4 separate regions of the Homo sapiens genome follow, and all the other regions are linked to region 2. Evidence: promoter capture Hi-C in 16 types of primary human blood cells and fetal thymus (Javierre and others, 2016). All regions are on one chromosome and are shown on one strand. The core of a region is centred on a gene start or on the middle of the fragment in contact, and the rest is flanking DNA. Distances in the headings are between cores, read along the strand shown.

Region 1 (6,881 bases), core at 2,737-5,236, 460 kb before region 2:
AAATGAATGGAAGATTGGACTTTGTTTTGTAGGGAACTTCGCCAAGAGTTTAACCATTTCAGAGAATCACAGCACTGATAGCGGCTTCTCTCCCAGGTTCAGGTCACCAAAACAGCATCCTCCACCATCGGCGTTGGTGGCTGGGTATCTGTGATGCTTCCCATGCAATGTGAGCAGCTGCCCACTGAGTCCCGGAGTCCTAAGACCCTTCCCTCACAATCCTAAGACAGTATTGCCTTTTCACTGTGATGGCATTGGTGACATAAAAGCCACTGTGGGCAGGGTGCAGCGGCTCGCACCTGTAATCCCAGCACTTTGGGAGGGTGAGGCGGGCAGATAGCTTGAGCCGCAGAGTTTGCCCAGACCAGCCTAGGCAACATGGCAAGACCCCGTCTCTACAAGTAATAATAATAATAATAATAATAATAATAATAAAATTATCTGGGCATGGTGGCACGCATCTATAGTCCCAGCTACATGGGAGGCTTAGGTGGGAGAATTACTTGTGCTCGGGTGGTAGAGGCTGCAGTGAGCCGTGATCGTGCCGTTGCACTCCAGCCTCAAAAAAAAAAAAAAAAAAAAAAGCCACTATGGGTGAAACTGCTGGAACTTCAGGAAGCAAGGCAGTGGCCACAGACTAGGCAGGTCTCTGTGCACTCCCCTAGATAAGCACTTGTGGGGACAAAATATGCCTGTGTCACTTAAGTACATACCCTTTTGATCTCCTGTGTGATGAAGCAGGGATGCACACAGAGCGCCTGCTCCAGAGCAGGGGACTGGCTCGCAGAAACAACTTGTCAGAGGTGGAGCCACGCGAGCCTCTGGTCCAGGGAACACAGTTTATCTTATTTTTTAAATTAATTAATTAATTTATTTATTTATTTATTTTTGAGATGGAGTCTTGCTCTGTCACCCAGGCTGGAGTGCAATGGCTCGATCTTGGCTCACTGCAACCTCCGCTTCCTGGGTTCAAGCAATTCTCCTGCCTCAGCCTCCTGAGTAGCTGGGATCACAGGCACACACCACCAGGCTGGGTAATTTTTGTATTTTTAGTAAAGATGGGGGGTGTCACCATGTTGGTCAGGCTGGTCTCGAACTCCTGACCTCGTGATCTGCTTGCCTCTGTCTCCCAAAGTGCTGGGATTACAGGCGTGAGCCACTGCGCCCAGCCGAGAACACTGTTTATACGGGAAAGAACGACGAACAGACACATGATGGGTATTCAGATCTGGGCATTTGGCAGACAGACATTTTCTCATAAATGAGCAAAGTGAGCCTGTCCCTTCAAGAAACTGAAGCATTTGTTGCCAATGATAAAGTTGGAACTTGGAGCTTTCAAGGGAAAATTAGAATTTTGGAAAATTTGTGTACACCACCACAAGCTTGACAACTTCTCAATATTTAAAGATTTTTCTGATGCGATGGATGGCAGTGCTAACAAATGCTATTTTTTGACACTGTTCAGTGACATGTCATCTTTTGGGAGATGTATGTGATTTAATGGGTACAAAATTTCAAAGAGGCCACATGATGCTGCACATCACATGTAGGTAAAACAGCCATTCACGGTACAAGATAGGCCAGGCACAGTGGCTCATGCCTGCAATCCTAGCACCTTGGGAGGCTGAGGCAGGCAGATCACTTGAGGTCAGGAGTTCGAGACCAGCCTGGCCAACATGGTGAAATCCTAGCTCTACTAAAAACAGAAAAATTAGCCAAGCATGGTGGCATGTGTCTGAAATCCCAGCTACTCAGGAGTCTGAGGTGGGAGACTCACTTGAACCCAGGAGGTGGAGGTTGCAGTAAGCCAAGATGGTACCACTGCACTCCAGCCTGGGCAACAGAGTGAGAGTCCTTCTCCAAAACAAACAAACAAACAAAAGTACAAGATAGGCCCGTGCATTTTAATATAATAAAGCATGAAATGTTCATTGATATGGGTTCAGATTCTACATTATAATCAACCTTAAAGAAACAATTGCTTGTTAAGTTTTGGCGTAGCATTAAAGAAGAATATTCACAATTATCTGAAAAAGCTATCAAAATACTCGTCTTTTTTTCCAACTCCGTGTTTGCGGGAGGCTGGATTTTCTTCAATCAAAACAATATATTGCGGGACGCAGTGGTTCATGCTTATAATCCCAGCAGTTTGGGAGGCTGAGGTGGGCGGGTCACCTGAGGTCAGGCGTTCAAGACCAGACTGGCCAACATGGTGAAACCCCATCTCTACTAAAAATACAAAAAAATTAGCTGGATGTGGTGGCGCACTCCTGTAATCCCAGCTACTCGGGAGGCTGAGGCAGGAGAATCACCTGAACCTGGGAGGTGGAGGATGCAGTGAGCCAAGATCACAACATTACACTCCAGGCTGGGCGACAAGGGCAAAACTTTGTTTCAAAATAAAAAAATAAATAAAAATTTTAAAAGCCCCAACATATTGCAACAGACTGAATGCAGAAGTAGACATGAGGCTCCAACAGTCTTTAATTAAGACAGTTGCTTGAGAGATTTGCAAAAGTGTAAAACAATGCTGTTTTTCTCACTAAATTTCTCTTTGTTTTGGAAATGAAGGTATTTTTCGTAAAAATATGTTTATGTTTACATGTAATGAGTTCATTATTACTTTTTGATAAATTAATAAATATCTGGGTCCTCAATAATTCTTTTAAAAATTTTTTTATAATTTAAAATAGAGATGAGGGCTGGGCTCGGTGTCTCGCGCCTGTAATCCCAGCACTTTGGGAGGCCAAGGTGGGCAGATCACTTGAGGTCAGGAGTTCAAGAACAGCCTGGCCAACATGGTGAAACTCTGTCTCTACTAAAAATACAAAAATTAGCCGGGCGTGGTGGCTCATGCCTGTAAACCCAGCTACTCGGAGGCTGAGGCAGGAGAATCGCTTGAAACCAGGGGGCGGAGGTTGCAGTGAGGGGAGATCACCCCCCTGCACTCCAGCCTGGGCGACAGAGCAAGACTCCTTTTCAAAAAAACAAACATGTAGCAATGAAGCCATTAAAATAATTTATTTTTTATTTCTTTTTCTTTTTGTATGAATCGACTTTGGATAAGAAAAAAATCTACTTTTTAAAGAGCTGGGTTTGTGTGGTGGGACACCTATTGGGTGCAACAATGTGGAGAACACTGCCCTCTGGCGGTCACTCCCAGTATAGTACCAGAGAGGTGGGGAAGCTTCCCTTGCTATTCTAGGACTGACCATGAGACGGCAGAAGAATACAGTATTTGCTTCTTTTCTATTTCTATTATACTTGCTTTTCTTTTTCTTTTCTATTTCTATTTGCTTCTTTTCTATTTTCTGTTCCTTCTTTTCTATTTTTTTAAATTTAAGTGTAGCTAAGGGGACTCACTATGTTGCCCAGGCTGATCCCCGACTCCTCGGGTCAAGTGACCCTCTCACCTTGGTCTCTCAAAGTGCTGGAATTATGGGCATGAGCCACCATGCCTGGCCTAAAACCCTGTTCCTAATCTCTAGGTTGGTCCTCAAAGCCTCACACTCAGCCGGGTGCCCAGGGATTGGGGCAGGAGTGACCTCACAGAGCTGCCCACAGTAATGATGCCTGAAGTGCTCCAGCTAGCAGGCTAAGCCTTGTCTTCTCTGCCTCCACAGCAACTCATAGCAGCCCTAGGGAAGGCCACATCCCAGACCCCTAAACCCAGAGAGACAGAACGCAGACCTGGGTGGCAAGGACTCAGTAAGTTATTGAGTGCCAAACCGGGCCACCACTGTGCTTGGCTTTAGGAAAACTTGACATCTATAAAACTTTTAATCTCTAGTAGGTGCTCAAAAAAGCCATTCACTCTTTCATGTAACCAAGAAAAGATGTTTGAGCACCTGCAAAGTGCCAGGCACTGTCCTAGTCACTGAGGACACAGTGAGAAGCAAAAGGGGCCCAGGTCCTGCCCACATGGGACTTATAATTTGGTGAGGGAACAAAAAAAATTTAGTCTCAAAAAACCAAAGTTTGGTTAGATGCTGTGAAAAAGGATGGGGTTCTTTAAGGGCACCTGAGAGAGGGGTCTTGTTTTTCCTGGAAGCCAAAAAGAAGCATAAAGGTTGATACGGTTTGGACGTTTGTCCTCCAAATCTCATGTTGAAATGTGATTCCTGGCTGGGCATGGTGGTTCATGCCTGTAATCCCAGCACTTTGAGAGGCCAAGGCAGGCAGATCACTTGAGGTCAGGAGTTCGAGGCCAGCATGGACAACATGGTGAATCCCCATCTATACTAAAAATACAAAACTTAGCTGGGCATGGTGGCACGTGTCTGTAATCCCAGCTACTCAGGAGGCTGAGGGAGGACAATAGCTTGAGCCTGGGAGACAGAGGTTGCAGTGAGCCGAGATTGTAGTGAGCCGAGATTGTGCCACTGCTCTCCAGCCTGGCTGACAGAGCAAGACTCTGTCTCAAAACAAAACAAACAAACAAAACTACCTCTTAACTTAGTCCCCTCGCATTTTTTTTTTTTTTTTTTTGAAACAGAGTCTCAGTCTGTTACCCAGGCTGGTGTGCATGCAGTGGCACAATCATGGCTCACCTTCCACCACAGACTACAAACATGTGCCACCACATCCGACTAAGTTTTTTTTGTTTTTTTTGTTTTTTGGGGTTTTTTTTTTTTTTTTTGTAGAGATGGGGATCTCACCATGTTGCCCAGTCTGGTCTCAAGCTCCCAAGCTCAAGTGATCCTCTCATTTCGGCCCCCTAATGTATTGTCATTCCAGCCATGAGCCATGGTGCCCAGCATCTCCTGCTTTTTAACTTTGTTTTTAAAAGCTTCTTGATTTTTGTTTCAATTTAATACTGTCTTGGCAACTTTTTAACTTTTTGTTGTTTAGTCTCACTCTCTTGCCCAGGCTGGAATGCAGTGGCCAGATCTCAGCTCACTGCAACCTCCACCTCCCAGGTTCAAGCGATTCTCTTGCCTCAGCCTCCCGAGCAGCTGGGATTACAGGTGCCCACCACCATGCCCAACTAATTTTTGCAATTTTAGTAGAGACGGAGTTTCACCATGTTGGCCAGGCTGGTCTCCAACTCCTGACCTCAGGTGATTCACCCATCTCGGCCTCCCAAGGTGCTGGGATTACAGGCATGAGCCACTGCGCCCAGCCCAATTCTGCTATTAAAGGACTCTGATGCATTCTTCAGTATGCCAATTGCATTTTTCAGCTCCAGAAATTCTGCTCTGGATGTTTTTTAATTATTTCAATCCCTTTGTTAAATGTATCTGATAGAATTCTGAATTCCTTCTCTGTGTTATTTTGAATTTCTTTGAGTTTCCTCAAACAGAATTCTGTCTGAAAGGTCAGAGCTCTGTTTCTCCAGGATTGGTCCCTGGTGTCTAATTTGGTTCATTTGGGGAGGTCATGTTTTCCTGGGTCATGCTGCTAGCAGATGTTCTTCGGTGTCTGGGCATTGAAGAGTTCAGTATTTATTGCAGTCTTCATTGTCTAGCCTTAGTTGTCTTTTTTTTTTTTTTTTTTTTTTTTGAGATCAAGTCTCACTTTGTCACCCAGGCTGGAGTGCAGTGGTGCGATCTCGGCTCACTGCAACCTCTGCCTTCCGGGTTCAAGCAATTCTCTGCCTTAGCCTCCCAAGTAGCTAGGATTACAGGCGCCTGCCACCACGCCTGGCTAATTTTTGTATTTTTAGTAGAGATGGGGTTTCACCATCTTGGCCAGGCTGGTCTTGAACTCCTGGACTCGTGATCCACTCTCCCCAGCCTCCCAAAGTGCTGGGATTAGAGGCGTGAGCCACCGCGCCCAGCTGTACCCGTCCTTCTTAGGAAGACTTTCCAGATATTGAAAGGACTTGGGTGTTGTGATCTAAGCTGTATCTGCTTTAGGGGGCACCCACACCCAGTAACACTGTGGTTCTTGCAGACTCATAGAGGTACTGCCTTGATGGTCTCAGACAAGATCTGGGCGAATTCTCTGGATTACCAGGCAGAGACTCTTGTTCTCTTCCCTAACTTTCTCTCAAATAAATGGAGTCTCTCTCTCTGTTCTGAGCCACCTGAAGCTGGGGGTAGAGTGACACAAGCACCCCTGTGGCCACCAGCACTGTGACAGTGCTGCAGACCCAAAGCCAAGACAGCAATGGGTCTTGCCCAAGGCCTGCTGTAACCACTCCCTGGCCACTGCCTATGACAGTTCAAGGGCCTGGGGCTCTGCAATCAGCTGGTGGCAAAGCCAGCCAGGCCTGTGTCCTTCCTTCCAGGGCAGTGAGGTCTCCCAGGCCCTAGGCAGGTCCAAAGATGCTGTCTGCAAGCCAGGGACTAGAGTCCAAAATCTTACAAGTCTACCTGGTGTTCTATTGTACTGTGGCTGAGCTGGCACTCAAATCACAAGACACAGCCCTACCCGCTGTTCCCTCCCCTTTCTAAAGGCAGAGGAGCCTCACCCCGTGGCCACCACCACCACAGGCCCACAGGGAGTTCTGCCAGAGTTCCCTTAAGGCCCAAAAGCTCTTCAGTCAGCTTGTGGTGAATGCTGCATGGCTGGGACTCACCCTTCAGGGCAGTGGGCTCCTCTCTGGCCCAGGGTAGGCCCAGAAATGCCACCCAAGAGTCAAGTCCTGGAATTGGGGACCCCAAGAGTCCACTTGGCACTCTACCCCTCTGTGGCTGTGCTGGTTCCTAAAGTGTAAGACAAAGTCCCCTTTACTTTTCACTCTGCTTTGCTCAAGTGGAAGGAGCCTCACCCCACAGCCACCACAGCTGGGAATGTGCTGAGTCTCACCTGAAGCCAGCAAGTCTCAGAGGCTCACTGAGGCCCTTGACATAGCTCCTGGGCATCGCTGCTGGTTATTCAGGGCCCAAGGGCTCTTCAGTCAGCAGGGGGTGAATGCTGCCAGGACTGGCTCCTTC
Region 2 (7,806 bases), core at 1,919-4,418:
GCCATGCACAACTCCAGTGAGCTCCAGGGAACAGACGATACCACACTTTCACCTGTAACCTGGAGCGCTCTCCTGAGTTCCAGGCTGACAGCTCCTTTGGACTATCCCACTGGCACCTCCCACTCTGCTCATCTCTTCCCATCTCAGTTCTTCAGCCTGGTTTCTTCCTGGTCACAGGGGCTTCAATTCTGATTCCCCAGCATCCCATCTGATTCTCCTCTGCACCTCTCTCTCACACAGGCCTGGTGCCTCTTTTCCAGGGACCTTAGCCTTATCCATGACTGCCTTGTCCCAGGCCCTCAGAATATCCAACCAGCTCAAGGCAATTCTCTCCTATTGGCTTCCTGCCCTGAAGCTCTCTTCCCTCTCATTAACCTTTCATGCTGTTCTCTTTTAACAACAGTGCCCGTACTTTATTCCTGCTATCAAAAACCTCAATGGTTTCCTCACTAACTACAGAATAAGGTGAAAATATCTTGGCCTGGTAGAAAAGGATTTCTATGATCTGGCCCCATTTTATTTCCCAAACTTAATCCTCTCTGTATACGAATTACCACCTCCACTGCCTCTAAATCTTGCTACACTTTGATCTCTTCCCCCAAACGTTACAACTTTCAGCTCCTTTGTCTTCTTCCAGGATGCCTTTCCTCAAGTCTCACACCGTCCTCCAAAGCACAATTCAAATGTTAACTCCTGTCATCCCCAAAGCATTCCCTCACTGTGAGATAACATTATTTTTATGCACTTGCTACAGCACTCACTAAACTGCTGATAATTTAATGTTCAGGAGATTGTCCTCCGCACCTCCTCCCCACCATCAGACTGTGAACCCATGGATGATGGGGCCTGATTTTTTCATGCCTGTCCTTAAGTCCTCAGCGTCTAACCTTGGGTTTATTTTTTGTTTAATTACAGTTCTGTCTTGTAATATTTGTTTCTGTAAGTTTTGTCTCTTTCACTAGATTATAAGCTCTTTTGAGGTGAGGGATCACATTTTACCAATCTTGCTAGCACCAAGCAGAGGACTTTGCAAACAAAACATAAATGATCTTCAACAAAAGTCTGCTGCATTGAATGAGCATCTGGGATGAGCCTAAACCCAAAGCAATAGACCGCCACCTAATATATCTGTATTACTCCCCCTGGGGAGGCAGGTAGCCAGCCCAGTGGGTAGCCCTGCCCTCTATTTTTGAAGTAAGATCTTTCCCTGTCCCAGACCTAAACTAATCCCAGGTCTTTGTCAGCTCAGTGGAGGGCTGCAGATGGTAAAGTTTACACGGATGCATAAGGCGTATAGTCTCATAGTCTTTCCAGAAAAGCACAAATATGACAAATATGCATGCAGGTGGTTCTTCTGTCTCAGCAAATTCCAGAGCCTGAGCCCCAGAGAGGACACTCCTTCAAGCTCCTGAACTGGTGCAGGGGCCTGCTGACAGAAAGATCCCCAGAGGCCCTGTGGCCCATCCTTTCTTGGCTGCCTGCTCCTGAGCCCGCAGCAGCATCAGTGTCAGGCAGAATTCTGACAGCTGGAGGATACCACCCCACCACAGAATATGAATTAATTCACAGGGAGGCTCCTCGAGCAGGTTACCTCAGGTGTCCTGGCAAATACAGCCCGAAACCCTCTCCAAGGGGAGGCAAACAGGCCAAAGATCAACCTGCAAGAGTCCGGAGGGAGGAAAGTTCAGCAGTCCAGGCTACCTCTTCCACCAGCGTTCCGCTTTCTCAATCTCATCAGGCGGGCAGGGCCGGTTAGGAGGCTGACTGCTGTTCCTCAATTTCATTTCTTTTCCTTCATAAACATTTACAGAGTCACAGAACATTTTACTTTCTAGCTGTGTCATCCTGGGCATCCCTTACCTCAGAGATTTTCCTCACCCATAGAATAAAGATAATGATCTTTGCTCTGCATCCCTGACTGGCAGGCTCAAGTGAGAAGGCACAGGTGAAGGAGCTTCCTAAACTGCAAAGCCCTATGGGTATTATTGCCAATCACATTATCTGCGCCAACCCTCTAATCTTCCCGAGGAGGAAACCCAAGCTCAGGAAGGTCACGTGGTAGCCGTCAGGATGAGACTGGGCCCTTCGGAGTGCCTGTTATTCCCAGACGGTTTACTGAGTGGTGATCACAAGCACCACCCGGTGTCTCTCTCCCCTCTAGCGTGGATTAAGAAAAACTCCTTGGAAAACTTAGGTTAAAGAAAAAAGAAAGGGTTCCCGGGTGAAGCGAGGTGATGAGTTGTAAAGCCAGCTTCACTCTTCCCTCCCTGGCTCAGGAGGCTCCTGTCCAGGGCAACTCAGCAGCCTCGGCGTCCACATGGCTGACCGCCGCTGGACTCTTGCGGGCGATGGAGGACTGGCGGTGGCTGAGGTCAGCACCTCCCACCAGGCCACCCGCTCCGAATCTCATCATCGGGAGGAGTGAGGGGCCCGGCTTCAGGACAGTCCGAGGCGGCGGACTGGGGTGGGTGCAAAGGCCGGCTTGCATTTTGGGAGAGTGGTCCCTGACCCTCAGCCCGAGAGGTGAGAGGGAGTGAAGATACGGAAGCGCCTTTCCCTGGCGCCCGAAGAACAGAAATGTCTCCCTGTCTAGCGCCCATTCTCTCCCTTAAAGGAGTTATGTTTATTTTCCTGAACTGTAATATTTCCCAGGCCGGCGACTGGCCTGGGCTACCGAACGGCCCCTTGGGAAAAGTAGTTCGAGTTCACTTCCAGGTAAGTTCCCTTCGTCCCGGCTGCCAGCGCGTTTCATTCTCGGAGACCTCAAACCCCAGCGGGCTCCGCCAGCACCCCGAAAGCTGAAGTCCCGGCCGCCCGAGTCTCCAGACGGCTCGCATCCCGCAGAGGAACAAGAGGGAAAAACTACGCCTCCCAGCAGCCACCGCGCGCCTCAGTGCGCAGGCGTAGCCGCGCCTCGCCACCCCTCCCCCTCCCCCAACTGCTCCCGTCGGTCCGTTCCCGTGTTCCCCCCATCAGTTCTAATGTCCCCAGTCTCTCCGGCACCTCACACTCACCGCGAACTCGCGGCGTCGGATACAGCCGCTGTGCCTTCTCCAGGAAGCGGAGCGCCCGGTCGGGCTGGTTGCTCTGGATGGCCTTGAGGGCGATGCTGATACAGCGCTCAGCTTCATCCTTGTTGGATTCCATGGCGGAACCAGAACGCGGAACCAGGGAGGGGGAGGCCGGGCGAGCGAAGGGCTGCGCCACCCGCCGGCGCGTCGCGGGCAGCCGGGCGCGGAGTGATGACATCCACCCTCCGCCCCTCCTTTCCCGAGTTTTGAGCGAGGGTGGAAGTGCTACCGTATGTCTTCTAAGAAAGGGACGGCTGGTGTAGGTGTCAATAATGGTGCACGCCCAGATTCCATGTTCCGGAGGTCTTAGAGTTGAGTATGCGCCAACCCTCTAATCTTCCGGAGGAGGAAACCCAAGCTCAGGAAGGTCACGTGGTAGCCGTCGGGATGAGACTGGGGCCTTCGGAGTGCCTGTTATTCCCAGACGGTTTACTAAGTGGTGATCTATATACGTAATGTAACTACATACGTTTCAGACAAAGGTTATTTATTCACTGAACAGATATTGAGTGCCCACTGTTTGTGAGGCATGGTTTTATGATGGGGATACAGGGGTGAGCAAAACAAAGCTCCTGCTCTCATGGAGCTTACATTCCAGTGTGTGTAGGCTGGGGGAGCTCCAGATAGATTCAGATAGTGATAAAAGCTCTGAAGAAAAATTATGGAAAACACAGGGATAGAGAGTGGGAGGCGCTATTTTAAATAGCGCGATAAAAGAAACCTCTCAGAAGCTGTCATTAACAGGTACCAGAATTCAGGAACGATAACAGGTAGATGTGACTGTCTGGAGGAAGGGTGGTCAGGCCGAAGGAACAGCAAGTGCAAAGGCTCTGAAAAGGGAATTCTCTTGGTGAGTTATAACAGATCAGGAAGGCGAATACATTCTAGGGAGCGTAAAGATTCTACTACAGGCTGGGCGCGGTGGCTCACGCCTGTAATCCCAGCACTTTGAGAGGCCGAGGCGGGCGGATCACTTGAGGTCAGGAGTTCGAGACCAGCCTGACCAACATGGAGAAACCCCGTCTCTACTAAAAATACAAAATTAGCCGGGCATGGTGGCACATGGCCTGTAATCCCACCTACTCGGGAGGCTGAGGCGGGAGAATCGCTTGAACCTGGGAGGTGGAGGTTGCGGTGAGCCAAGATCACACCATTGCACTCCAGCCTGGGCAACAAGAGTGAAACGCCATCTAAAAAAAAAGAAGAAAAAAAAAAGATTCTACTACAGAGTGTAATCCAGTTCTATCATTATCCCGTTCTTCGAGGGCTATCACTCCAGTGAAAGCAATCTTGTGAAGGTTGCCAGTGACCTCCACGTTGCCGAATCCCCGAGTCATCTGTCAGCCCTTACATTGCTTGGCCTTTCAGGCAGGATTTGGTAAGATGCTACTACAGTAATCCGGATGAGAGTCAGGAAGCTACTATTATAATACAGGTGAAAATTAATGGTAACTTGGATAAGGGTGATGGCGGAGGTGGTGAGTAGTAGTAAAATTCTGGATATATTTTGAAGACAGAATGACGCAATGGATGTGGGCTGTGAGAGAAAGAAGATTCAAGGATGATTCCAATGTTTTTGGCTTGATAACTGGAAGAAGAGAATTTCTATTTACTAAAACAAGGAAATGGAAAAGACTACAAAAGCAGTTTGGTGGGGGAATATTAAGGGTTTGATTCAGTTTATGATGCTTTTTAGAATCAAGCAGAGATACAGACTAGGATGTTGTACATACGTAGGGTTTAGGCAAAAAGGACCTGGAAATATAACTTTGGGGCCAGGCACAGTGGCTCACTCCTATAATCCCAACATTTTGGGAGGCCAGGGGTGGGAGGATCACTTGAGGCAAGGAGTTTGAGACCAGCCTGGGCAACAGAGTGAGATCCCATCACTACAAAAAAATAAAAAATTAGCTGGGTGTGGTAGTACACGCCTGTAGTCCCAGCTACTCAGGAGGCTGAGGTGGGAGGATCACTTGAGCATGGGAGGTCAAGGCTGCAGTGAGCTGTGATATATATATATATATATATATATATATATATATATATATATATATATATATATATATATATGCACCAAGGAAGTGAGTGTAGATGGAGAAGAGCAGAGAAGTCTGATTACTGAGCCTCACGAAATCCCAACATTTAAAGATCTGGAAGAGGAAGAAAATCCAGTAAAGGAGAATGTGAAGAAGCAGGTTGTAAGGAAATGAGTAGGTCAGGTATGGTGGCTCATGCCTGTAATCCCAGCACTTGGGGAGGCTGAGGTGGGAGGCTCGCTTTAGCCCAGGAGTTCAAGACCAGCCTGGGCAACATAATGAGACCGCCCCCCCTCACGGTCTCTACAAACAGTTTTTTTAGAAAAGGAGGGAGGGGGGGTCAAACGTCATATCCTGTGGAGAGGCCAAGCAATGTGAGGCCTGAGAAATGACCAATGGATTTGGCAGTGTAGAGGGCAGTGTTGACTTTGACAAAATTGCTTTTATCTATTTCATTTTATTTTTTTGAGACAGGGTCTCACTGTTACCCAGACTGGAGTGCAGTGGCACAGTTATGGCTCACTGCAGCCTCAACTTTCTGGGCTCAAGCAATCCTCCCACCTCCGCCTCCTGAATAGCTGGGACTACAGGAGTGCTCCACCACACCTGGCTAGTTTTTTTTTTAAGTTTTTTTTTAGAGATGGGGTCTCACTGTGTTGCCTAGGCTGGTCTCAAACTTCTAGGCTCAAGTGATCCTCTCACCTCAACCTCCCAAAGTGCTGGGATTACAGGTGTGAGCCACTGTGCCTGACCATAAAATGGCTTTTAGTGTGTGGTAGGGGTGAAAACCCAACAGGAATGGATTCAAGAGAGTAAAGGTGGCTGGGCGCAGTGGCTCAAACCTGTAATCTCAGCACTTTGGGAGGGTGAGGTGGGTGGATCACCTGAGGTCAGGAGTTCAAGACCAGCCTGGCCAACATGGTGAAACCCTATCTCTACTAAAAAAAATTACAAAAATTAGCCAGGTGTGGTGGCATGCGCCTGTACTCCCAGCTACCCAGGAGGATTATGAGCCTGGGAGGTCGAGGCTGCAGGGAGCCATGGTTGCCCCACTACACTCTAGCCTGGGCACAGAGTCAGACCCTGTCTCAATAAATAAATACACACATAAGAAAGAAGCAAGGTCATGGCCTCCTCAGCTATACATGCTCCTTGGAAAATTCTTTCACATCCAACCTTCCTTTCCATTCCCATTTTTCCCTTTCCAATGCAAACCCTTACGACTCCATGCTGGCCTGGTACAGACCCTCCTTGATAAGACAGTCCTACACTTGGAGAAATTTAAGTTCTCTACAAATTGATAGGTCCCTAATGTGTCCATGGATAAATGCTGGGATCCTTTTCAAACAGCCTCTCTGAGGTTTGTTGACCTAGCACGACAATTTCCATCTTCCTGTCTCCTGCTAAGAATCATGAAGTATCCTCTTCCATTTCCTATCATGAGGCCTGTCTTCTCCTGCTGACTACAAGATACAGTCATGTGTCACTTAATGACAGGGATATGTTCTGAGAAAAGTGTTGTTAGGTGATTTTATCACTGTGCGAACATCATAGAGTCCTTATACAAACCTAAGTTGGTATAGCCTGCTACACACCTAGGGTTTAAGGTATGACCTGTTGCTTCTAGGTTACATACCTGTACAGAACATTACCATACCGAATACAATGGGAAGTATTTGTGTATCTAAACATAGAAAAGGTAATGCATTGTGCTATGACCTTATGATGGCTATGAATGTCACTAGGCAATAGGACTTTTTCAGCTCCATTATAATCTTAAGGGACCATTGTCATATATGCTGTCTGTAGTTGGCCAAAATGTTATGATGTGGTGCATGACTCTACTTCACACTGTGAAGAAGGCAATCAAGTAGAAAAGAAAGTCTGTCATTTTCTTGTGTTAGGGAACTGGATTGTGACTGGCCAACTACTGACGGGTGAGCCCTTCTCTTTTCCTACAATTCATATAAAATGACAAAGTCCTATTTAAATTGTGGGTCAGTGCTTTGGCTTGATTGGCAGGGTCCAGATCAGTAACGATGTGGAGAAGCGGGCTGCTTGTGGTAGGGGCCCTTTATGCCTTATTTTTGCATTCTTCTCCTTGCCCCCCTCTGCTGCTCATCTTGGTCCCTAAGCTGTTTCTTTCTTTTTCTTTTTTTTTTTTTTTGAGACAAAGTCTTGCTCCATCGCCCAGGCTGGAGTGCAGTGGCGCGATCTTGGCTCACTGCAACCTCTGCCTCCCAGGTTCAAGCAATTCTCCTGTCTCAGCCTCCCGAGTAGCTGGGACTACAGCCACATGCCACCAAGCCTGGCTAATTTTTGTATTTTTAGTAGAGATGGGGTTTCACCTTGTTGGTCAGGCTGGTCTGGAACTCCTGACCTCAGGTGATCTGCCCGCCTCGGCCTCCCAAATTGCTGGGATTACAAGCATAAGCCACCGTGCCCGGCCACTGTTTCCTTTTGCTTTTTTTTTTTTTTTTTTTTTTGAGATGGATTCTCACTCTGTTGCCCAGACTGAAGTGCAGTGGCATGATCTCAGCTCACTGCAACCTCTGCCTCCCAGGTTCAAGCGATTCTCATGCCTCAGCCTCCTGAGTAGCTCAGATTATAGGCATGCATCTCCATGCCTGGATAATTTTTGTATTTTCACAAAATACAAAAAGTGGAGATTAACAAAATGCAAAAAGTAGGGGTTTTAC
Region 3 (7,974 bases), core at 3,870-6,369, 280 kb before region 2:
TGCCCAGACCTCGCCCTGGCCTTGGGTTGTGGGACACTAGCTCCTCTTCTTCTCCTCCTCCTCTCTGCCAGCTCTGCCAGCTCCCCTGCACCCCTCTCACCTCCTAAATGCAGCCTCTGCCCTGGCCTCTTGCTCATTCTCTCTCTCCTCCCTTTCTTCTCCCTGGATGACCTCATCCCCACAGCAATGTCAATCATCACCCACAGCGGGTGACTGAAATCTGCATCTCACTCCAAGAAGGCCCCTCAGCCCTGGCACCCACCCCAAGCCAGCTGTCAGTGCCCTCCCAAACCAAGCAATTCCCGACTCCTTGTTGCCAGTAAAAACATTCATTATCAGCACCTGCATTTCTATGTTACTTTTTTTTTTTTTTTTTTGGAGACAAGGTCTCACTCTGTCACCCAGGCTGGAGTGCAGTGGTACAATCATGGCTCACTACAGCCTCGAACTCCTGGCATCCCCCTCAGCCTCTCAGATAGCTGGAATCACAGGCACACGCCACTGCACCCAGCTAATTTTTGTATTTTTTGTAGAGACAGGGTCTCACTATGTTACCCAGGCTGGTCTCAAACTCCCGGATTCAAGCAATCCACCCGTCTCGGCCTCTCAAAGTGCTGGGATTGCAGGCGTGAGCCACCGTGACCAGCCTAAAATTTTTTAAATGCTTTCTCAAATATTGTCTCCTGAAATCCTCATAAAAATCCACATAAGGTGCAAATTCATTCTCCCAATCGGTTCCTTCTTCCATCACCTTCTTATGGAGGATTATTTCCTGCTGCCCCAGAAGGCCCCTGCTCACTGGTGAACACTGGCGCCTCCCTGTGGAAATCCTCCTTTCTTCCCCCACTAACAATTGGATGCCAGAGCTCCTTCTTCCACAGCCCTCCACACTTGGCTGAGGTCTTCCCTCAGTTCCTTTGACTTGCAGTTACCTGACCATAGTGTCTCTTCCAGGCCCCACTCCCCACCTGCACCTGTCCGAGGTCAGGGACAGACAGGGTCTGGCTCCAACTCTCAGGTAGTTCCAGCCAGGGCTGCAGGTGGCCCCAGTATGGCTGGCTGCATTGAACACACTGACCTTGCCATCTGGCCCCACCTCAGTCCTGGAAACCCCTCCGGAGGCCCCAGCTGGGTCATCCTTTCTGCTTCCTGTGGCCTCAGGTGACTCCACCCCCACCCTACCTGGGGCCTGGGCTCCTCACCACAGAGCTGTAAGTGTGGCCATCTGAGCCGCAGACAGAGGCAAGCTGGGCCATGTGGCAGGGCTTGCAGATGGAGTCTTTGTTTCCATGGAGTTTCACGGTCGGCTGCTTGATCCTACAGGAGAGGGTGGGGGGCACACCAGGGTGGAAGTGACAATGAGGAAGGAGCAGGGGAAGGGAGGGCTGAGCAGACCTGTTCCAACAGGAAGGCAGCAGCAATCTTCAGCAGATCAGCCCCTTCCTGCCCCTGCCCACCCTCCCCACACTGCTGCCAGACCCTCCTCCAGCTCAGAAGGGTGGAACCAACTGAGCAGGGCATAAATTCCCCCAGCTTCTCTTCTTCTAGGAGTCACTGAGTCCCATGGGGCCTTCAGGTAGCAACTCCAGGTCTGAAGGCCAGAGGTAAAAGGGGGTCACACTTCACTTAGGGGGTCAGACCAAATCTGAGGTTGCAAACTGATGACCTCTGGGCCATACTTGGCCACCAAGTGTTTTTTTTTTTAATTGAGTTATTTATGCACTAACATTTACCAAATGGGAGAGTTCACATAAATACCTGGATTCTTGGCCTGTCTTTGAAAAATGGAAGCATGGGAGTCCTGGACCTGCATTCCTACATAGCTGTAATAGACCAGGGCCAAGAAGCAGCTGCCTGCTTTCCACCACACCTGTGCTCCACAGAGTGGCCCGTGACCAAGCACTCTTCATGCATTACATTACCGGCCATGCCCCTGCAGCCTTCTAAGACTGCAACCCCATCTTTCATCTTCTATGATTCAGGAAAGAAGGGAGGGAACTGGAACCTTTTCCAGGGTCTTGGAGCCAGGCAGAGCCTTGTCCTTGGGCTGGAGCTAAGACTTCCTTTTTTTGTTTGTTTTGTTGTGTTTTTTTTTTTTGAGACGGAGTCTCACTCTGTCACCCAGGCTGGAGTGCAGTGGCGTGATCTCGGCTCACTGCAACCTCCGCCTCCCAGGTTCAAGCAATTCTCCTGTCTCAGCCACACGAGTATCTGGGACTACAGGCACAAGCGACCATGCCCAGCTAATTTTGTATTTTCAGTAGAGATGGGGTTTCACCACATTGGTCAGGCTGGTCTCAAACTCCTGACCTTAGGTGATCCACCCGCCTTGGCTTCCCAAAGTGCTGGGATTACAGGCAGGAGCCACTGCACCCAGCTGGAGCTAAGGCTTCCTTAAATGTCCCTCACTCCTTTCTCCTCTGCAAGCTACAACCTCTCACAAGCTACCACCTTAAATATTTCATGAAGTCACTGCATGTCAGAGCTGAAAGGAACCTCAAATTATATGGTCTAACCTATTTGTCTTAGAGATACTACATCAAGGCCCAAAAAGGAGATGTGACTTTCCCTGCATCCCACAGGGTTTGGTAATTGTTCTCATATGGTGTGGCTTTCTCCTTGCTCATCTCTTAAATGACTTACTTTAGGTGAAGGCAGCCGCCATGTTGTGAGGACACTCAAGCATCCCTATGGAGGGGTCCACATGATCAGGAACTGAGGCCTCCCACCAAGAGCATAAGAGTGAGCTTAGAAGTGGATCCTCCAGCCCGACAAGCTTTCAGATGAAACAGCCCCAGCCAGCACCTTGACTATAACCTCAAGACAGACCCAGAGCCAGAACCATCTAAGAGAACCACTTCTGGATTCCAACCCTCAGAAATGATGTCAGATAATACATATTTGCTGTTTTAAGCACTAAGTTTTACAATTTATTTAACAGCAGTAGATGGCTAATTCATAAGGAGAGGGTCAGTTGAGCCCTTGCTCTTTGAACACACCCCCTCCAGGGCTCCCACCTCCCCAAACCTCTCACCTGTGCTCCAGCTTCTTGCGACTGATGCACATGGCCCGCTGGTAGCCCTGGGCAATGCACACCTTGTGGCGGCTGCACTTCACCTTCTGGCAGGGGTCCTTGGTGGTATCCAGGGCTGCAGGGGCACAGAGTCAGGACACAGGTCACCTGGGAGAACCCAGGAACCTCCAGCCCCACTTCTGAGCTGGGAGGCCTCTCCCTCCAGCAGCCCTTGATAACCAGAGCTCCTGAGCTCAGGAGTCCCATCCCCACCGGGGCCTGGCTGCTCAAGGAGCCCCCAAGCGGGCTAAGGGCTTGCCCTCTGGTCTCAAGTCTTCACACGTGTCAGTCACCTTCCCCCGCCGGGAGAGTCATGTTACCTTCATCTCCTTGCTGATTGTCCTCCCAGCTCTTGATATAGTCATCCTAGAGGACAGAGAGGGACAAGGGAGAAGGGAAAGGCTAAGATCCATATCCCAGAGGTTCAACTGCGGGGTCGAGGAGAGGCCTGGGCCAGCGATGTCATGTGCCAATGGCCGTCATCCTGGTGGCTGACCCCTGTCCACCCAGGCCCTGCCAGCTGCCTCCCCCACACCTCTATCCCTATAAACCCATGTCCAGAATCCTTTCCAGCCTCTCCCGTGAGCTCCTGATTGCTCCCATGCCACACTGGAGGCTGGCAGGGAAGGCAAGTCAGAATGAGGGTGTGGAGGGACACAGGAGGGGAGGGGGTGTGCTCTGCAGAGACCACACAGAGTGGGGTCCTGGGCAGTACTCACCTCCACTTCCTGGAGATCAGGGAACAGCAGCAGGCCATGGAAAACGGAGCAGGAAGAGAAAGGGAGAAAGATGGGGATATCAGTGTGAGGCCCTCTGGTGTTCCTGGGGTCCCCTGCCTCATCATGTGGCCGAGCAATGGCCTTCGATGGCTGTGTTCCTCTGACCCCCAGGAACCCCAATAAGAGGCCAGTATTCTTACGTCTTCATCACAGAGCTCAAGACTGGCCTTAGGAGTAGCAGGGGCCCGTGGCTTTGAGAGGGTGGGGCACCCCCACTCCGTTCCCAGTCCAGCCCCAGCCCCACCACCAGGACAGATGTCCGAGGTGCCCATGCTGCGTAGGAACAGAGCTTCTCATGCCTATGCCCTGGGTGTCTCAGAAACTGCCTGAGAAACGGTGCACTGTCTGTCTCCTGCCAAGGCCCCTTCCTTGTCAGTCCCCACTCCTGACCTCTGCCCACCATGTGAGTGAGGTGGGAGGAAGACCCCCTCACCCAGTCTGCAAAGGGATGCTTTTTGCTCAAGGTCTGACATCTCTGCAGAGCTCAGCTCATACACGGAGTGAGGGAGGAGGCCATGCCTGTGATGAGGCTTGCCCAGTTATCACGATTCAGCTTCAAACCCTCAGAGGCAGAGGACCCAGAAAGGGTCCTACGAGGTCACCTGGTCCAGCCCCCCCTTTGTGCCGGAGAAAGCCCAGAGACAGATGACCTGACCCAGGTCCTCCCGTCACACAACCCAGGTCTCCCGATGCCCAGCACAGACCACTTTTCTTGCTACAACACACTCTCTGAGGCCTAAGGCACAAGGGAGACCTTCTCACCCTGCTCCAGCTGCAGGGGCCTCTCAGGCCCGTGGACCGCAGAGTGGCCAGAGGCAGAGAGCCTCCCACCTGACCCAGCTCCCTGGCAAGAACACTCAACTTATCTGGCTTCCTCCCTTTCCCCTACGGGGCAGAGACAGTTGCTAAAAAACACCTAACAGTCCCAGGGCACTCCTGGTGGAAACTCTGCCAGGCAGGCAAGGAGGGGGCTTCCCAGGCCTGCAGGCTGGCAGTGACAAGGACCAGCTGCCCACTTCCTCTGCGTGGGGCTCCAGGAGGGGCTCTGGGAGCTGGGGGGAGAGGGGCATGAGAAGCTACGCGCAGCTGCCCCCTTCATCCTGAGTTCTGCCATAGCCCAAAGGAGCAGAGATGTGTAGGGGTGAGCAGAGCTGTCAGGTCTGGGGGAAAAGGGCGGTGGGGCCATGGCACCAAACGGCACCCACATGCGTGCAGCAGTGGGCACACAGAAGGGTGCCTAAAGGGCTTTGAAATCCAAGGCCTTCAGGCTTCTGAAGCCTCCCCTGGAAGCTGGCAAGCGTCAGAGCAGGCAGGGTGAGGCCTCCTGGACAAAGGCCGAAGGGGCCAGACCCGAGCAAGCAGTTGGCATCACCACCGAGAAAGATGCGGTGTGCACAGGCATAGACCTGAGTGCATGCTTCTGCATGTGTGTGTGCATTTATGCAGACCCAGGTGCACCCATGCACACTCACAGGTCTGTATTATGTAGCATGTGTGTGCAGGCATGTTTGTGTGTATGCACATCCTCATTTATGCACAGGTGGACATATGCACACACATGTGTAGTGACAGAAGGAAAACAAGGACACTAACAAGGACATTGTTCACCCAGTGCCAGATGGTTTTTATCCAGAAACGAGGTAACAAAACCCACTCTGTGAGCAGCCTCCAGTTTCACACTCGAGGCTCTCCCTCAGGCTGGCCTTCCTGCCTCTTCCGCAGTGAGAGAAGGAGGCAGCAGGAGTCGGGAAGGATGGGGAGGGCGGGAGGACCGCAGACTGCTCCCGTGAGAGCCCACGGCGGCTCTCTCCCTCTCTCTCCTTCTTCCTCTTGCTTTCACGTGCCTCCCCGTGTGTTCCTGTGTCCCTCTCTCCTCTGTCTCTCATTGAGCCTCTTCCTCATCCCTCTGCTCGGCCCACACCTGGCCCACACGTACCTGTCCTAGCAGCCAAGAGTCCCGCAGCCCCTGGGCCCAGGAGCAGACAGAGGAAGGCTGCAGGGGTGCTTCCTGGGAGCCTGTGGGGCACCTGGCCCAGCACTCACCCCATCCCTCAGGCTTGACCTGAGCGCTCCTGAGCCCCCAGGCAAGCCTCTGGGGAGGCTGCAGGCACCACTTCCCTCGTTTGCTAAAACCAACGAAGCCTTCTCCAGGAGCTCCTCAGGGTTCAGGGGTCCTCTGCTGGGGGTCCACCCCACAGGAGATGGAGGGAGGCCAAGAGAGGTGCAGCTGCTGAGGCCATGATGACAAGGGTTGGGGCAAAAGTGGCAACTGGTCTCCATCAGCTGGGGTCTTCCCGTCTGTACCCATCATCCCCTGGGGCAGGGGTGGGGACAAGGCTGTGCAGGTGATGGGAAATGGCTGGGTTCTGGGAGGGAGGTATGAGCCCTCAACCATACCTGCCCTCAACCAACAAGATCTGTGTGCCCATAACCCACCTGCCCCAGAGTGGAAGTAGGGAAGGTGCCTCCAGCCCCTGGGTGTCATCTGAGGCCCCTGGCACCGGCTCACTCCCACCTTCTGGCCCAACCCTGCTGCCTTAACCTCCAACCAGGCCGTGAGTGGAATTTTTGGGACTCAGTACACAGTGGATTCTCAAAGGTCAAGACCAAGAATTTATGATTAGAAATTTGGGGGAAAGTGGGGATGGCGTGGGAGTTCTAAGAAAGGGGCTTTCCCCAGCTGCTCCACCATCCCCCACTCCCTTCCTGACTCAGCTGGCAGGGAGGGAGCCCCTTCTGTGCAAAGCACTGCCCCCGGTTCCAGCCTCGACTTTTTGCCTCTGCTGTGGCCAGGCTGGGCAGGCAGGATGGAGGGGCCCCAGTGGATCTGGATTCCAGGACCCTCACTCCCAGGAAAGCAAAGGCAGCCAGCCAGAGAGGGACGAGGAGAGCAGGGCCCTGGGGTCCTGCAGATCCCCAGGCTTCCCCCGACCAGTGCACCTTGGGCAAGCACCCGACCTCGAGGGGCTCAGTGCCTATCTCCCAGGACTACTCAGAGATTAAAGCAGATGGCACCTGCGGGGTGCCTGGGGTCCAGGAAGCACTTAACAAATCAAAGCTGCTATGATGGAGAAGAGACCCCCGGACTGCAAGTGCGGAAAATGAGGGACAGAGATGCCACATGAGGAACCCCAAAAAAGTGGAGAGGGAGAGGCCACCATGGGGACAGCAGAGACCAGAAGGGATACGAGGAGAGTCCCCTAGGAGGTCTTGTGGGGAGGAATGACGAGGAAGTCCTCTGGGCAGCTGGGGAGTGGCCACTCTGAGGGTAAAACTCAAGGACACACTGAGGGGTCCCTGAGGCCAGGTGTGGGCTGGCGCCACCTTTAAGCTGAAAAAAAGGTGTTTGTTGGCAAGTGCAAATAATGCCTTTCAGTGCAGTGTTGGGTGTCTATTTATGGCACCCCAGTGGGCTCATTAGCAGTTGTGAGAAATAGTCTGATCAGGGCACCTGGGGCTTCTCAGGAAACAGAGGCCCCGTTCTACACCTGAGAGTGGTGGCAGGTGGCTCTGCTGCCGACCTCACCTGGAAAATGGGGATTTGGAAGAGCTCGTGGCTTGTATTGCATGGTGCTTATATATGCTTATCTATCTACCTATCTATATGAGTAAAGCTTTTAATTTAAAAAAATGTTTTAATAGAGATGGGGTCTTGCCATGTTGCCCAGGCTGGTCTTGAACTCCTGGGCTCAGGCAGTCCTCCTGCCTTAGACTCCTACAGTGCTGAGATTATAGGCGTGAGCCACTGCACCCAGCCTGCATGGTGCTTTTAGAGTAAGTTCTCTCCAGGCATTTGGATGGGTCTGCCTTTTATCCTCACAGTCCTGTGAAGTAGTCAGAGCCAATAGGATCAACACCAGAAGAAAGGAGAAAACGAAGGCTCAGAGAGGCAGAGCAACTGGCCAGAGATGGCAAGACAAAAGAGGAGCTGAGTCAGGGTTCCCCATCGCCCCCTCCCACCCCACAAGTTAGAGTCTCTCTCCTTAAGAGAGGACCAGCATCTGCACTGAGGAGGAGGAGGCAGAGAGAGGACATAGAAGGGGCACTGGACCAGGAGTCCACTTTCAGCCTGGCCCACGGTGTGTCCTCAAAGAAGTCACTTCCTCGTTGTTGAGGACCTCA
Region 4 (7,585 bases), core at 4,194-6,693, 320 kb before region 2:
CGTGGGCACAGGGATCCCTCCAGTTGGCCACAGGCAGGAGCATTCTGAGTGAAATGCCAAGCCTGACTTAGAAAACTCTGCCCCAGACAGCAGCCCGATCATCCGCCACTGGTCGCCTTCCTGTGTTTATTCTGAGGCCACCATGCCTGACAAAGGCCCCTTGTCCTGTCCAAGAAGGGGACAGATTTTTAAGGACATGGATTGAGGATATGGGCTATTTATTACCAGGACTGGTTCCCTCTCCCGGAGGCGTAGGAGTTGCTGTCACGGTCTGTGTGGAAGTCGATGCTGGCCTTGCCGCCCCCTCCCCTGCTTGCTGGCCCAGCTCCCTGCCCACACTCAGATCCACCTGACAGTTTCCTCCACACACACATGCACGTGTGCACAGCTTGCCAGGGTGCAGGGCAAAGCGAAAGGGTATCTCCTGAGTCTATAATGGCCTATAGGATTCCTGCACACCTAAAGTCATTTGCAAAGTGGTGGTGCATGTGGACATGTGTGTGTCAGTGTCGCATATGCAGGACAGACTACAGAAGTTGCAGGGCCCGGGGCAAAATGAAAATGTGGCACCCCTTGTACAAAAGCATTAAGCATTTCATGATGGCAACAGCAGAGCATTAAACCAAAAATGGGGCTTTTGTGAATTTGGGGTCCTGTGCAACTGCCCAGGCCATATGCCCAGGAAGCAGGCCCTGCACACACATGTTGTGTTTACACCAAGGCACTTTTCTGGTTAAAGGGCTCCAGGCTTCCATTAGAATCTCAAAGGGTGGCAGCACAGTGGCTAACACCCATAATCTCAGCCCTCTGGGAGGCTGAGGTGGGCGGATCACTTGAGGTCAGGAGTTTGAGACCAGCCTGGCCAACATGACAAGACCCCATCTCTTCTAAAAATACAAAAATTAGCCCTGTGTGGTGGCACATGCCTGTAAACCCAGCTACTCCAGAGCTGTACTCTTGTGCCTCAGAATCACTTGAGCCGGGGAGGCAGAGGTTGCAGTGAGCTGTGATCGCACCACTGCACTCCGCCTGGGTAACATAGTGAGACTCTGTCTCAAAAAAAAAAAAAAATCTCATAGAGGTCCAGGATACTCCAAAGGTTATAAACCATTTAGTAGCAGAAGGTCAGTGTCAGACAGGCCTGGGTTTGAGTCCCAGGCACGTTACTTATCCCCTGCAGGACTGGACTAAGTTCTGTGCCCTTCCGAGCCTGTTTCCTGGTCTGTAGAAGGGGGATTGTCATAACACTGACCTCCCAGTGCAGGAGAGATGGGAGCCAGCTCGATACAGTATGTGGCATGTTTCAAGCTCCCAGTCAGTGGTTGGTTAGTTAACCTTTAGTTAGGTCTGTTCTGCTTGTTATTGTGTGATGTCACCTAGAAGTTTCTAAATCCTCCTGCCAGTTTAACCTCAGCTAGCTGTGCCTTCCGTGGATGTCCCCAGCAGGCCCAGCACAAAGCATGGCAGGAGCTCTCGGGGACCCGAGTTGGCGTTTCTGTCACCTGGTCTGCTGTGAAAAGGGGTGGGCTGCACAGGCTCAGCTGGCCTCTTCCTCCGGCCCTGAGCGTTCGTTGGCTGACCTGACGGATCTGCTGTGCAGTATCTGTACTGTAAGAACATGTGACGGGGCAGCAGCCTGAGAGGACCTAGGGCTGGCGGATGCAGGGTTCTAGGCTGAGCTCAAAGGGTCTGGGCCCCTACCTGATAGCTTCTGAGTCAGTGTCACTCTGGACAGAGCCTTTTTCCAAAGCAGGACACCCAGGAGAGGGTTCTCAGGAGACCTGGGGCCCAGTGGCCCTTGGTGGCTGTATTTCCCCTCCAGTGTGGTAGCTCCTCAGGGGTCTCTGTGCTGCCTCCCCAGTTGTCCCCACTGGGTCTGCTAGCATCACAGGGAGAAGCCCCCTGTTACCTAGTCACCCCTTCCCTCCTTTCCCCAGCCTGATCTCCTAGTCCCTCCCCTCCTCTTTCAGGGCAGAGACTCCCAGTGGAGAGGAAGGAGGGGGACACCAGGCTCTAGGGCCTGAAAGGAGGGGCTGAGACGCCTGGTGTGACCTCACCTTGGGACATTACAGCCCCTCGGGCCTCCATTTCCAAGGCTGTAGCGTGCAAGTGAAGTCTTCGCTTCTGCCCCGGGGAAGCCCTGCCCTGTGCATCCAGGGAGGCTTTTCCAACACACACAATGTGCATTTCTTTTCTTTCTTTTTTTTTTTTTTTTTTTTTGAGACAGAATCTTGCTCTGTGGCCCAGGCTGGGGTGCAGTGGTGCAATCTTGGCTGACTGCAACCTCTGCCTCCCAGGTTCAAGCGATTCTCATGCCTCAACCTCCCAAGTAGCTGGGATTACAGGCGCAAGCCACCACGCCTGGCTAATTTTTGTTTTTTCAGTAGGGATGGGGTTTCACCATGTTGTCCAGGCTGGTCTTGAACTCCTAATTTCAGGTGATCCACCCGCCTCGGCCTCCCAAAGCGCTGGGATGACAGGCGTGAGCCACCGTGCCTGGCCACGCAATGCGCATTTTTGAACTGATGAGAAATGGAAAGAACCAAAGGTCCACCACGAGGGGAGGGGCAGACACATGGCTGGAGAGTCCTATTATGAAAGGTATGCAGCAGTCAGAAGCTAGGTGGGCTGACAGAGAAAGGTGTCCAGGAATTTTTTGTTTTGTTTTGTTTTTTTGTTTTTGAGGCAGAGTCTCACTCTGTGGCTCAGGCTGGAGTGCAGTGGCACGATCTCGGCTCACTGCAAGCTCCACCTCCCGGGTTCATGCCATTCTCCTGCCTCAGCCTCCCAAGTAGCTGGGACTACAGGTGCCCACCACCATACCTGGCTAATTTTTTTGTGTTTTTAGTAGAGACGGGGTTTCACCATGTTAGCCAGGATGGTCTCGATCTCCTGACCTCGTGATCCGCCCGCCTCAGCCTCCCAAAGTGCTGGGATTACAAGCGTGAGCCACTGCGCCCGGCTGAAATATTTTTAAGTGAAAAATGAAAATTGCAAAACAACACATACAGTATAAATAATTTATATGAAAACAAACTGCTATACATTCTCTAAACATACTGATGTGCAGGGAAAGGTCTAGAAAGATATATTTTACATGGGTTATAGCGGTTACCCGAAGGGGCTGAAGGGGTGACCAAGGAGGATTTTCACCCTCCGGAGCCCTTCCCCCAGGCGCAGCGAGCCTATCCAGGCGCCCAGACCCCACAAAAGGAATGGAATTTCTAATCCCAGGGCTAGGGCCAGGTTGTACCACTGGCACTCAGAGTGGGAATCCTGTGTGGCTTGTAAATAACTAACTTCCTGGCCACTGATAGTAAAACTGCCACAGTCACCTTTTATTAACCACCCACCAAGGGCAAGGCACGGCCCGGCATCTCCCTCACAGCAACAAGGTGAGTATTATAAGCATGGAATTGACCGTCAAGAACTGCAGGGTCTGAGTTTCACCCTGCTTTTAGGCTAGCAAGGTAGCCTGCCATGGTTTCATGGATGCTGGCAGAAGACGCAAGACTCCTGGGACCCAGACAAAGGGCTTTATTGCTCAAACACAACAGGCAACAGGAGTTCATGTTCGCCTTGGTTCCCCTTGTCTCGTGGGGCAGATTTGGAGGTGGGCCCATGTTCAGTGGGTTTAGCTGAAGAACCCCAAACCTGGAAAACTCCCAGTCTTAGGAGGGGGCTTCCAGCAAACTTGCCCAATCTTTGCCCTGATGGGAAGCATTGTTTTTATTCCCCTGGAAAGCAAACAAATAAATCTTCCCTCTTCCCTGGAGGGAGACGCCAAAATCGCTAAGCCAAAGGGAAGAATCAAGCTGGGAACTAAGTCAAGCAGGTCCTTAACCTGGGAACTGAGTAGTGCAAACCTGCCTCCCAAGACAAAGCTACATACCTCCCTCACAATTTGCCTACAAGGAAATTCCTTGTCCTCCCTCACAATTTGCCTACAAGGAAATTCCTTGTGGACAAAGGACAGACAGAGTTCAGAGTCATCCCTCTGCTCACAGGAGACAAATGCAGGTCTGATTATTTCCTCTGCCCTATTGTTTCACTAAGCCAGACTACGGCACAAGTAGCTATTCCTGTAAATTGGGTATTCAGTGAAAAGCTAATCAGAAACTCAAAAGAATGCAACCTTTTGTCTCTTATCCACCCTATGACCTGGAAGCCCCCTCCTTGCTTTGAGTTGTCCCACCTTTCCAGACTCAGCCAATATACATCTTACATACATTGACTGATGTCTCATGTTTTCCTAAAATGTATAAAACCAAGCTGTGCCCCGACTACCTTGGGCATGTGTCCTCAGGACCTCCTGAGGACGCATCCTTAACCGTGGCAAAATAAATTTTCTAAATTGATTGGGACTTGTCTCAGCTACTCTGTGTACACTTCCTAGGCTGTTGACTACACAAACGTCCTTGAAAAGATAATCCAGAACAAAAGCTGTCACAAGACAAGCAGGAATGCAAGGGGCCCTGGAGAACGATCTCCCAGCGTCAACAGACTGGGGAAGGGAGGCGCTCAGAAGTTGAGTCACTTCTAAAGGTCACACAGCCAGGACACACCTGACCCCAAAGCCCTTGTCTTTCCCTCCTGCCTCCAAAATGGGCTGCTGGTCTAGCCTGGGAACCAAACACCCACACGCAAGATTGCTTCCAAGTGAGTGTCCATGGTGTCATGGTTATCACGGTCACCTAGCAATATTGCTTCCACGGGAAAATCCGCTCTGAGTTCTGAACAACGACTTGTAGCAGAATCGTGGGCACAGGGCCTGTCTGTGGCTTGTGGAGCAGGCGCCGCCCAGATGTGCCTGATGCTGGGATCGAGTCATCCCAGAAGAAAAAATTCCTCCCTGGCTGCCCCTGGGTGATGTCAGAGGAGCTGGAAAGAAGAAATGAGCTTCTGGAGGTGGGATAAATGCTCTTTTCTTTTGCAGAAGGAAAAAAAAAGGTCACGTTGTTCCATATTTATTTAAATATGAAATTTATTTATAGAGCAAAAAGAGTTGGTGTTGACTTCCAGCACCCGGCCGGGAAGTGGTTTGGCCTTGTTTTTGTCTCCTCAGAGCACCCTGTCCCCTGGTGACCTAATGTGATTTTTCAGAGTTGGAGGCTAGACCCTGTCCCCAGGCTTTCAGACCTCCCTGGTCCCACCCAGTCTCTGGAGCCCATCCATCCCCGCCTGGAGAATGGCAGGTTGGGGCTCAAGCTTGGCACTGGGCTCCTCTGTCACTCAGTCCTCATCTGCAAAATGGAGGCGCGCACATCTGCCTCATGCCGCCCTCGCAGATAAAAAGCAGTCAAATAGTAAGCCAAGCAGCTTCTCACTTGGTAAATTGCTAATATGTGCATCTGTATTTATAGAGAAGGGAGCTGAGGTTTCAAGGCTTCCCTATCTGTAGTCAGCCACTGTCCCATAGTAGCCTTTGAAGAAGGTACGTCCCTGTCACAGCGCCCCTCTCGACTTCCTCCCGGCCACCCAGGAGGAGGTGTCTTCCACAGCTGTGCCTCTGAGCTGTCCCTGAGTCGCATGAGGTTTGTATTCTCAGAGGCTTGGGCAGGGCTGAGACTGGGGCCTCGTCCTGTAGAGAGTGAGGACTCTTACCCAGGAGATGCTCCCTACAAGACCCTTTAACATTGCTTATTGCATTTTAACTTCACAGCAACCCTGGGAGAAAAAAAGCTTTAACGCCGTTTTACAGATGGAGAAACCTAGGTTCTGAGGGTCTTGTGTGGCCAGGCCTCACGGCCAGTGGGGGTCAGAGATGGGACTAGAACAGGGACAAGTCTTCCACTGTCTAGGCCTGGCTTCCTGTCCCCACACTGGAAAGCTTCTGAACCGTGACGCCGGACTGAGTGCCTGCACCCCTGATGCCATCTCTGATGTCTCACGTGTTGTGGTACAGCCTCAGTTTCCCCCTCTGTGCCCTGGGATGATGCCGGGCTTCTCGCCACCTGAGATTCTCATGGGATTCTAAGTTCTCCTCAGTTGAACTGTGTGGAGTTAGTTTGGAAAAGTCCAGAGAGGGTCAGTGATGTACCCAGGGTCACCCAGTGAGCTGAAGCATGCCAGGACAAGGTCCGAGCCCCCCGCCGTAGGGTCAGGGCTCTGCCAGCCACACCTCCATGGCACAGGCCTCTGCAGGGAAGTGGTGGTGGTGGATGGGTGGCCGCCCTGACTCAGGGTGAGCACTGAGAACCCTGTTCTTGCCTTATGTGAAACCATTCCTGGGTATGTCCCAAATAAGCTCCCATGGCAGACAGGGAAATTACAGGGCGGGGTGGCGGTGAGGAGGCCAGGAAAGACTAGGAGGACAGAGAGGATGGAAAACCAGGAGGAGCAGGCCAACCGCCCACACTTTCCTGCCAAGGGATGACTGGCAGCTGTGGAGATGGCACCTGCAGCAAGGTGCACCCAGGGGCCTTGGGGAGGGCCAGGCCCCCATCTCGGGAGATGCCTATCTGACCCAAGGCTGGACAGCTGGGGCTGGAGATGACCCCATGACATCTCTCACCACCCAGGCAGGGTAATGAAGGTGTCCCCTTCGCCTGGAACACTTGCTGCTCCCTCATACTTCAGGCCTTAGTTTCTCTCTTTAAAAAAAAATTGTATAAATATAAGAGGTACAGGTGCAGTTTTGTTCCATGCATAAGGTGAAGTCTGGGGTTTTAGTGCAACCATCTCCTGAATAGTTTACATTGTACCCATTGAGTAATGCCTCACCCCTCACTCTCTCCCACCCTCCCGAGTCTGCAGTGTCCTTCATTCCCCTCTGTGGGTCCATGTGCACTCCTTTTTTTTAGCTCCCACTTACAAGTGAGAATATGCGGTATTTGACTTTTTTTCTGAGTTGATTCACTTAAGATAATGGCCTTTGACCAGGCGCAGTGGCTCACACCTATCATTCCAGCACTTTGGGAGGCCAAGGTAGATGGATCACCTGAGGTCAGGAGTTCGAGACCAGCCTGGCCAACAGGGTGAAATCCTGTCTCTAGTAAAAATACAAAATTTAGCTGGGTGTGGTGGTGGGCACCTGTAATCCCAGCTACATGGGAGGCTGAGGCAGGAGAATCACTTGAGCCCAGGAGGCGGAGGTTGCAGTGAGCTGAGATCACGCCACTGCACTCCAGCCTGGGTGACAGAGAGAGACTCCATCTCAGGAAGAAAAAAAAAAAAAGATAATGGCCTTTGGTTCTATCCATGCTGCTGTAAAAGACATGATTTCACTCTTTTTTATGCCTGCATAGTATTTTATGAGCATATATACCATATTTTCTTTATCCAATCAACCATTGATGGACACTGAGGTTGATTCCATATCTTTGTTATTGTAAATAGTGCTGCTATAAACATACAAATGCAGGTATCTTTTTGATACAATGACTTCTTTTCCTTTGGGTCGATGCTCAGTAGTGGGACTGCTGGATTAACAGTGGTTCTAATTTAGTTCTCAGTTTCGAGTCACCTTCTCAGGAGGGCCTTCCTGACCTGCCTGGGTAGAGCAGCCCAGCCTGCTGGGTGCTGGTGACTATTTTCACATGCTTTATTTCTGCCTCATCGTCCTGGATCCACAAACTTGTGAAAT

Evidence for each region. The method cuts DNA at HindIII sites, captures the fragments that hold promoters and counts their contacts. A CHiCAGO score of 5 or more calls a contact.
Region 1: a contact is called between a fragment that was not itself captured here and the fragment with the promoter of DNAJB12 in region 2, in 1 of 17 cell types (total B cells). The highest score is 6.5, in total B cells.
Region 3: a fragment that was not itself captured here is called in contact with the fragment with the promoter of DNAJB12 in region 2 in 2 of 17 cell types (naive CD8 T cells and activated CD4 T cells); the score reaches 5.9 in naive CD8 T cells.
Region 4: a fragment that was not itself captured here is called in contact with the fragment with the promoter of DNAJB12 in region 2 in 1 of 17 cell types (non-activated CD4 T cells); the score reaches 5.4 in non-activated CD4 T cells.

Annotation. Positions count from the first base shown.
Region 1 is chr10:71,893,422-71,900,302 of GRCh38, forward strand. No RefSeq gene overlaps it. Among named protein-coding and RNA genes, the nearest start is that of LINC03139, 19 kb to the left of the region's middle. The HindIII fragment of the contact is 1,602 bases long and covers 3,186-4,787 here.
Region 2 is chr10:72,351,751-72,359,556 of GRCh38, forward strand. DNAJB12 (DnaJ heat shock protein family (Hsp40) member B12) reads right to left here and starts at 3,169. Exons shown (of 9, transcript NM_017626.7): 1 at 3,015-3,169. The coding sequence starts at 3,147. RefSeq lists enhancers at 2,626-2,755, 3,146-3,395. The HindIII fragment of the contact is 22,726 bases long and covers 1-7,806 here.
Region 3 is chr10:72,069,110-72,077,083 of GRCh38, forward strand. It overlaps SPOCK2 (SPARC (osteonectin), cwcv and kazal like domains proteoglycan 2), which reads right to left. Exons shown (of 11, transcript NM_001244950.2): 2 at 3,793-3,801; 3 at 3,394-3,439; 4 at 3,035-3,149; 5 at 1,203-1,317. Among named protein-coding and RNA genes, the nearest start is that of SPOCK2, 15 kb to the right of the region's middle. RefSeq lists enhancers at 1-479, 660-1,161. The HindIII fragment of the contact is 4,690 bases long and covers 2,775-7,464 here.
Region 4 is chr10:72,034,119-72,041,703 of GRCh38, forward strand. No RefSeq gene overlaps it. Among named protein-coding and RNA genes, the nearest start is that of SPOCK2, 51 kb to the right of the region's middle. The HindIII fragment of the contact is 474 bases long and covers 5,207-5,680 here.